Regions from separate parts of the Homo sapiens genome. Here region 2 is linked to region 1. Evidence: promoter capture Hi-C in 16 types of primary human blood cells and fetal thymus (Javierre and others, 2016). All regions are on one chromosome and are shown on one strand. The core of a region is centred on a gene start or on the middle of the fragment in contact, and the rest is flanking DNA. Distances in the headings are between cores, read along the strand shown.

Region 1 (4,523 bases), core at 907-3,406:
TTATTAACAAGTTTGTTTTAAGATAATAAGTTTATAAAATGAGAGGTAGAAAACATCTCTGTATGTCTAAAATTTTTCATAATAAAGTACTGGAGAAAAAAAGGTGAGATAGTGATTTGCATCCTTTATCAGGCAAAATTCATCAGCAACTAAACATGAATGTTCTGATTCTCAAGACCTTTGCAAAATAAAGGCTCTGATTTTTTTTTTTCAACTAAATGTAGAACATTTCTTTCAACCCCCAAATCCACCTTTGCAGCCCAAGTCAGTCCACGTTGCACTGTTTCTGCAGCATGTCAGAGCCTCTGGCTTCTTTCCTCTCTCCCCCTTCCCCCAATTAATCTCTGAAACCTACATAAGAATGGAATAAAATGCAAATTCAAGGAGAAGGATGCAGTTTTCAGAGAAGGCCTCATCCTCCTCCTACCCTATAATGGAAATTCCCTTATGGTTAAACAACAAAAATGGAAATATTAAAACCCTCAGCTGAAAACAAACACTTAAGCACCTATTCTCCTTTCCAGAGAATCTGTTTCCCTCAATCATTATTTTTCCACTCTTTTGAGAGCCTTCTAGGCTGAAAGTTGTTTCATCTCACCCATCTTGGGTCTCTCCTAGGTCTCATTTCTGCCTTCACCAGGCTTGAAGTTCTATATCCCTAGGCTATCAGAACTTTGACTCTGACCAGGCTCAATTCTAGACTTTACTGGGGAATGGGGAGAAGCTAAAAGCTGGGGGTGGAAGAGAAGGGGAAACAGAGGGAACATTCCAGAGACAGTAGTGTCCCTGAAGGGGAATTAGGCTGGCAAAATGGGGACCAGAAAGCCACCTCTATTCCTCACAAGGGACACCTAACTCAAGCACAGCCTGCTAAAGCACTTTATTCTCCAGACTCAAATTGCCTTAACCTGTAAGCAAACGCTTCCCCAGCCATTTATCCGCAAGCGCATTTGCCCCACCTGCAGCAATGAAAGAAGCACTGTTTTTGCAAGCCGGGCTGCTACCCAGACTGCGAGGAGACATTCTGTGCAGAATTCAGCCACTGGTGGAGAAAAAGAAGTTTTTCTTTGCAGGCCTTGCTGCCTAATACAACTATATCAACAATTTCTCCCGCTGTGTAAGCCCCATCTGAAAATCTTTCCCTTTTATCTAGGATGCAAAAATGTAATGTTATCCTCCATATTCTGGTTTAAAGAACTACACCAGGAAAGACATTTTATGATAGGCTAGGGCATCATTTACCTCTAATTCAAGCATGCATGTACCTAGAAAACTAACAAAGGGGTAAGTTATGCCATGCCATGACTTCTCTTCCCAGATTTCTATCCTGAAATCTTAACAAAATTCGATTTTAAAAACCTCAAGGTTTGTATTCTTCACGAGTACATGGATACCTTGAGTTCTACCTAGAGGCCTCTAGTTTCTGACAGAGCTAACTTGGAAAGGGCTGCTTGCCAGGGTACAAGGATGTTGCAGCTTCCAGGTGACTCCCTCATGCCCAGAAGCAAGGCAGTTCAACAGACGCAGTGCAATACAATTGTCCCTTTTCAGGACTTTGCAATCTCCATGGGGGAGCCCATCGTGCCCGCCACTCTACACCCTGGGGGTGAACATGCCCTGCAAAGCAGATTCGGCGTGAGGAGACTCTGGAAAGTCTACAGGCGGTGGGAAACTGTTTCGGGATCTCTCATTTTCAGCACAGCCGGTCGCTTATTCAGCAGAAAACCCACGGCCCCATCTTCACACCAAATTACAGTACTCTCCCGTCTCTTCCACTGAAATTGCCACTCGCATCCCTGATGCGTGACCCCTGCTCACCTCAAGTTCCTATGAGAGTTTCTTTACCGGTTCCAAACAAACTGCCCAGATTCTGGAAAGGGAGAGAAAGCCCCTCCCCCTTTCCACTTTCACTTAATAATTAAGTGTTTGAAGTTTTGTGGATCCTTAAGGTCGCTGTGCTCACCTCATCAGCGTCGGACCGCCGAGAAGCGCCAAGCCCGCTGCTATGTGCAGGACGCCCACGGTCCCCCGGCGTCTCGCGCGTTCGCGGGGCTGGAAGGGGCGGGAAGGGGCGGGCCGGGGCAGAGACAGGGGCCCGCGCCCATCGCCGCGCCGGGAGCCTGGCGTGGAGGCGGCGGGACGGCGGCGCAGGCCTCTGAGGTGTGCGCGGGGCGCCGGGCGCCTCTGGCCGGGGCACTGGCTGAGCCACGCCTGCCCGCCCCTCCCTGGCGCCGCCCGCGTGGCGCGCCTCGACCCTGCTCTCCCGCGAGGGCCGGGAGGGCTCCGGGACCTTGCAGACTCCACGCGCCTCACGGCTCCTCCAGCTCCTCGGATCTTTCTCCTTGCGTCGCCGCCGAGTCCCCTGGGGCGGCCCCGCCTCCGGCCGTCTCCTCAGAGACCTTCCCTGGGGGGCGCCTTCCCCTCAGCGCCCCTTCCCGGGCCTCGAGCCAGCGGCTGCCGCAGGAGCTGGCCCCGGGGCGAGGAGCTTCAGATTCAGGTCCCTAGCCGGCCTCGGTAAGGAGACTGGAAGGATTCTCCGCGAATGCTCATTTTTATTTCTGGAGTGGCGTCGGAGTTACCAATTAGTTTTCTTATTTTATACTCTCTGGAGTTGCCAAATTCTTTACGTTGAGCTTTTGCTTATTTTATAATCAGAAAGACAAGTACGTTTCTTTTTCCAAGAATGCTTACAGGAGGCCACAAACAAGATGTTCGCACCCAGCCCACTGTCTTCCGCTTAAAAATATGTGTGAGATGTTGTGTTTAAGACACCCTCAAGGAGAAACATAGAGGGGAGACCTGGAAATGGTCTTGGGAATCCACTTAGACTTTCCATATTATATTTGTTTCATTTATTTTAAAATCTCAGACCTATTTATGTGCATTAGGACATTCCACATTTTTACAACTGCGCAGAGGAAATCTTTGGTTGTAGAGGACGGGAAGAGAGAGGCCAGGTCCGCAGACCCCACTGTGACAAGACAGTGGCTACATTCTTAACTGTTTTACACATTGTGATACCCAAAGACTTCTTTTCACAGGATTCTACTGAGGGGGAAAACAAGAGGAAGAAAGAAAGATAGACAAGGTTTTCCTCAAGGCAGTAAGCAAAAAGCTGGTTTCTCAGAAGAAAGAATTATGTCTGAGATTTTACCCAGGACTCTCCAGATCTCTCATTCTACACAGAAGGACCCTTTCATTTGGAACGTGCAGAAACTGAGGAGGACCATCTCTCTCCTCCATGGGGGCTGCCTGAGTTAAAAAGGCCTGGGTCCATCTTTTTTCCGTAGGAGAGCTGACTTCAGAGTCTAGAGCCAAATCTTCACTTCTGTGGCTCTAGATTGAGGATTTGCCCTTCTGATCTCTGTGGGGCTTTTTTTTTTTAACCTGGGAATTCCCCTGGGCTCTTCGGCTGTTATTCTCATCAACCCCTCTCTATATTCTGCAAGACATTGAAATCTTTCTCCCAGCTTGGCCCCCACCTCCAATCCCAGTATTCTCTTTTCTGAGATTGGAGTATTTCCAACCCCTCAGTTGCCAGGCACTGAAGGTTTTCATCTTCCAGGCCTGCCATGTTTACCTCTGAGATGTTTCTGGCAACTGTCCACTTCTCTGCATTCTCACACTGCTGCTCTTGATAAGCTTCGATTATCTGGGGCTGAATTGTTTCAATAATTTCCTAACTGATTTTCTTGCCTCCTATCTGTCCCCACCACCAACATAGACTTAAGAATGTCACTCTCTTGACAAAACAAGCCAACATCCTCTATCCTCTGTCCCACTCCCAAACCTGCAGTAACTTTCCTGTGCAATTGTAATACAGTGTAAACTTTCATAAGGATGGGGAGTGGCCAAGATGGCTGACCAGAAGCAGGTAATGTACATGGCTCTCACGGAGAGGAACAGAAGGGACGAGTAGATACAACACCTTCAACTGAAACATCCGGGTACTCGCATTGGGATTAATCAAGGAAACAACCTGACCCACAGAGAACAAGGAAAAGCAAGACAGGACAACAGCCCACCTGGGAGCAACAGGGAACCAGGGGATCTTCCCCTGCCCAGGGAAGTGGTAAGTGAATGAGCGACCCCGGAAACCATGCTTCTCCCACAGATCTTTGCAACCCTCCTGTCAGGAGATCTCCTTGTGAATCCACTCCACTAGCAGCAGGGCCTTCAGTCTTCAGTCTGGCAGACAGGGCTACATGGAGTCTCAGCAAAGCAGCCACTCAGGCATGCGTGGAGACCCTGGAGGCTTAGATACTTGGGCGTTCTGGCAAAAGTAGCTGCATCTCCCACAAAGAGGGAGTTTAGACTCCCATTCATACCCCTAAGAAAGAGGCTGAATCCAGAGGGCTGAGCAGCAACAGCCCGCAGGGCCCACTTCCACAACACCTCACACAAGACAGGACCCACTGGCTTGGAATTCCACCCAGCTACCAGTAGCAACATAGCACCTGCCTAAGTAGGAGCTCCCAGGGGAGGGGTAGGCCAACATCTTTGCTGTTCAGGAGCTTTAGCTG
Region 2 (4,523 bases), core at 900-3,399, 370 kb before region 1:
TAATATTATTACCATTTTAAATATAAAATAACTGAGGCCCAGAGAGATTAAGCAACTTGCTCAATATCACACACACACAATATTCTGTAGTGGTTTGAGTAAGTGCTTCTCTTTCAATTACTATTTATGTATTTTGCCATATTTTATTAAATAAAGGTGTAAAATATAATCATTAAATAGCTTGGTGGAGGCCGGGCGCGGTGGCTCACACCTATAACCCTAGCACTTTGGGAGACCAAGGCAGGCGGGTTGCCTGAGCTCAGGAGTTCGAGACCACCCTGGGGGCAACATGGTGAAACCCCGTCTCTACTAAAATGCAAAAAATTAGCCGGTCTTGGTGGTGCACGCCTGTAATCCCAGCTCGGAAGGCTGGGGCAGGAGAATTGCTTGGACCCGGGAGATAGAGGTTGCAGTGAACCCAGAATGCACCACTGCACTCCAGCCTGGGCCACAGAGCGGAATTCTCTCTCTCTCAAAAAAACAAAAACAAAACAAAACAAAAAAAAAGCAGTTTGGTGGCTAAATAAAAGACTAGAATGATTAATTCTTAGAAACTCAAATATAATTAACACACTTTAAAATATAACAGATTTAACATATACTAAGTGCCAAACCAAGAAAAGCATTTCTGCCTATTTGCCTATTTGTTTAGTTAATTCTTGCAACCACTCTGAGATACACATTATCCCTGTTTTTACAGAAGATATTGAGGTTCAATGAAAACAATTTTTTTTATTTTTCATTTTATTCAAAGTTGGTACAAAACTGTTAACATTTCCATAAAACAATTACTATGCTTCAGTTACAGGACAAAATATCACAGAAAGGAATGTATTTTGCAGTTGAGCACAATTTGAACAGTTAGTTATATTTAACTCAAATCCAATGCCCTCTTCTCTGTGCCATAATATCTGAAGTAATAAAATAATAAAACAATAGAATACATGTTAAAACAAGTAATAACAATTTTGTTCATGATTCAAAAAATGCATCCAACTCTCTTGTGTGATCAGACCCTGTCCTTAAACATGTATTTTCAATTAAAAAAAAATTAAGTTCACAACAATGATTTGCCAGTCATCTGTTTTAGAGTTGCATTTTAAAACCTACTTAAGTTCTGAAATATACTCATCAGAAAAGCAAAGGTGCTCAGTTTTTAACCTGTGTATTACTCATAGAAAATACTCAACTCTCCCAGAAAAAGTGAAAGGCAATTATAAAGAAATGCAGTTGCCATTCTGGTAACATGTATGCCAAACAAGTCCTTATCAGATGATGAGGTTCATGAAGGCAAGAGTTACTTGCATTTACTACTTTTATATCGCTCTCACAATCTAACATTTTTCATACAATAGGATTACAATAAAACTATGTAGAATGACTACGTGAAGGAGATCAACTCATAACTCATCAATTCCAGACACTGTTTTTATCTTTTCAGATAAAAGGGATCGATGTCCCCAAAGAATAATGCCCAGAGCCAATAGATCTGGCCTCTGAAAGCGCTGTGGTTACATAAGAAAAAAAAAAAAGAAAAAAAAAAAAAAGAAAAATCATCCCTTTTCCCACAAGGGGGAGAAAGAAAGGAGTGCTAGATTTCTCTCTGTATGCCAACTTCAGTATGTACAATAATTTTATTTTCTTTTTTAAAATACAGGATGCCAGATATCTAGCTCAACTATTTGCTGGCAAAAATACCGTAAGTGCACAGGGTTGTTCACTATAGCAAAAACCAAAAAAACCACAACAAAAAACAAGAGGAAAACAATATGTGCATTATTGGTCACTGGGTGAATTAACTAGAATACAGCCACATGATGAAGTAATATGGTAGCCATAAAGAAGGTGACACACACACACACACACACGAAAATATGGACTGATCTCTAGGACATATTTTTAACTGAAAAAAAAGAGAAAAATGTGTACCTTATGTAACCATTTATATAAAAAGAGTAAGAATAACTGCATGTTTGCTTATTTTAAAAATGGTAGGATAAATTATGAACACTTAAAAAATACTTAACACTGGTAGAGGAAAGGAACAGAGCAGAGGGAACAGAGATAAAAGCTGAACTTCTTTGAACATACCTTGTTTTGTCAATCTTGCTTTGAACTATGTATAAATATTTTATATGAATTTTAAAGTAAATTTTATTTGAAAATTTAGAAAACCACAATCTATAATAAAAGTAAACTGAAACAAACAAATGCTTAATGGAACATCATCACACAGAGAGGAATTATTCAATTTTTTTGAGATGAAGTCTTGCTCTGTCACCCAGGCTGAAGTGCAGTGGCATGATCTTGGCTTACTGCAACCTCTGCTTCTCAGGTACAAGTGATTCTCCTACCTCAGCCTCCTGAGTAGCTAGGATTACAGGTGTGCTCCAGGATGCCCAGCCAATTTTTATATTTTTTAGTAGAGGTGGGGTCTCGCCATGTTGGCCAGGCTGGTCTTGAACTCCTGACGACCTCTGGTGATCTGCACACATCAGCCTCCCAAAATGCTGGATTACAGGCATGAGCCAATGTGCCTGACCTCAGTGTTTCTTTAGAACAGAGAAATTTGATTGTTCATCCCTAATGGGATCTAATGGGTAAAACTGAGCTGTGCTTAGATCTTAAATTATTTTTAGCTGGTGGTCCTAGTGTTGGAATTGTTATTCTAAGATGGTTATGTAGGGTGCTGGGTAGAATAAGTTATTAATTATACTACTATCATTGAGAAATGAAATTTTCAATGTAAGAGAAAGGAAATACAAATATAAGATTATTACAGTTAAGTAAAAACTCATCGATTTTATTTGAAAGTATCAGTATGAACTCATGGTGTATTTATTTTTGGAAAAAAAGAAGATGCATTACATCTGAGAAAATTACCCACATATTTCCTAGCTCTGTTCGCTAAAAAGACCCAGAAACAATAACCAATCCCGTGACAATTAGCACCTCTAGCATCCAGACTGTGGTCTCTAAATACCACCTCCCACTAAAAGAACAAGGTCTTCTTGAAGAAAAGGTTGATTCTAAGTCTGAGGAAGAAATGTGTAAGATGAACTTGGAATACTTTGTCATGTTAGAAAGCAAGGAAACGGTCAAATATTATTAAGACTCACATAAGATACTTTAAAACAACAAAACACCTCATTCATTGGTACCTATGGAGGATGCTATGGAATAGACTATTATAAATTTTCGTAAATAAAGAAAAGGGATCAAATACATTTCCTGTCTTTTTATATAAACTATATCTCAGGGCACAAATAGTTGATATGGGAAAATCTCTCTTTATGAAACTATTCCAGCTTATAAATTAAGAAGGAATAATAACAGTAGACTATCAACATTTTGTAACCTTTAATGAATTAATGAATTTAGGCAGTGATCATCAATGGCTACTAACGTCAGGAAAAGAAAGACATTATGTTCTTCCTTCAGAAAGCACTCAATACTACAAATGAAGTGGTCCTGACTCCTACCAAAAATATATTTAATTATCAGTTATCTAACCACCAATTTGCAGGAAATATAGATGACCAAAGAACATACTAATTACACTACAGAAATTCAGCAAAATCCAGACCAAGAAAGTATAGGTCAAATGATCCGGTTTCTTTAGCAACAAAGTTCAAGAGAGAGAAAAAGAGAACCTATGGATTAAAAGAAACATTAGAGGCACATCAGCCAATCACAGTATATAAACCTTAACTGAATGCCAATTCAAAAATATAAACTTAAAAAAATTATGTCATAGGCAAATATAAACTGGGTATCTAATGACACTAATGAAATACCATTTATTTTCATAGGTATGACAATGGTAATTTAATTACATTTTAAAAAATAATATCCTGGCCAGGCGTGGTGGCTTGCGCCTGTAATCTCAGTACTTGGGGAGTCCCAGCTGGTGGATCAATTGAGGTCAGGAGTTCAAGACCAGCCCAGCCAACATGATGAAACCACATCTCCACTAAAAACACAAAAATTAGCTGGGCATGGTCGCGTGTGCCTGTAATCCCAGCTACTTGGGAGGCTGAGGCAGGAGAATCGCTTGAACCCAGAGGGTGGAGGTTGCAGTGAGCCGAGATTGTGCCACTGCACTCCAGCCTGGGCAACAGAGTGAAATGAAGGAAGGAAGGAAGGAAGGAGGTAGGTAGGTAAGGAGGTAGGTTAGGTAGGTAGGTAGGTAGGTAGGTAGGGAAGGAGGGAAGGAAGGAAGGAAGGAGGGAAGGAAGGAAGGAAGGAAGGAAGGAAGGAAGGAAGGAAGGAAGGAAGGGAGGAGGGAAAAATAATAAAAAAGAACATCCTTATCTATACATAAAGTATATATATACTTTATATATAAATATATGATATACACTACATATAGTATAGTTTATATATAAATATGTAATATACACTATAGTATATATAGTTTATATATTATATATACAATATATAGTGTATATTATATATACTATATATATATATGACTCCTTGCCAAAGTAATCTAGCTAACAAAAGTGCTTGAAGAACTTCTA

The links. The method cuts DNA at HindIII sites, captures the fragments that hold promoters and counts their contacts. A CHiCAGO score of 5 or more calls a contact.
Region 2: a contact is called between a fragment that was not itself captured here and the fragment with the promoter of GPR156 in region 1, in 1 of 17 cell types (neutrophils). The highest score is 5.7, in neutrophils.

The regions. Positions count from the first base shown.
Region 1 is chr3:120,283,066-120,287,588 of GRCh38, forward strand. It overlaps GPR156 (G protein-coupled receptor 156), which reads right to left and starts at 2,157. Exons shown (of 10, transcript NM_153002.3): 1 at 1,964-2,157. It overlaps LOC124909418 (a long non-coding RNA gene), which reads left to right and starts at 2,091. Exons shown (of 2, transcript XR_007096029.1): 1 at 2,091-4,072. The HindIII fragment of the contact is 9,811 bases long and covers 1-3,640 here.
Region 2 is chr3:119,918,000-119,922,522 of GRCh38, forward strand. The region is part of intron 4 of GSK3B (glycogen synthase kinase 3 beta); the gene reads right to left. Among named protein-coding and RNA genes, the nearest start is that of NR1I2, 140 kb to the left of the region's middle. The HindIII fragment of the contact is 4,934 bases long and covers 1-4,523 here.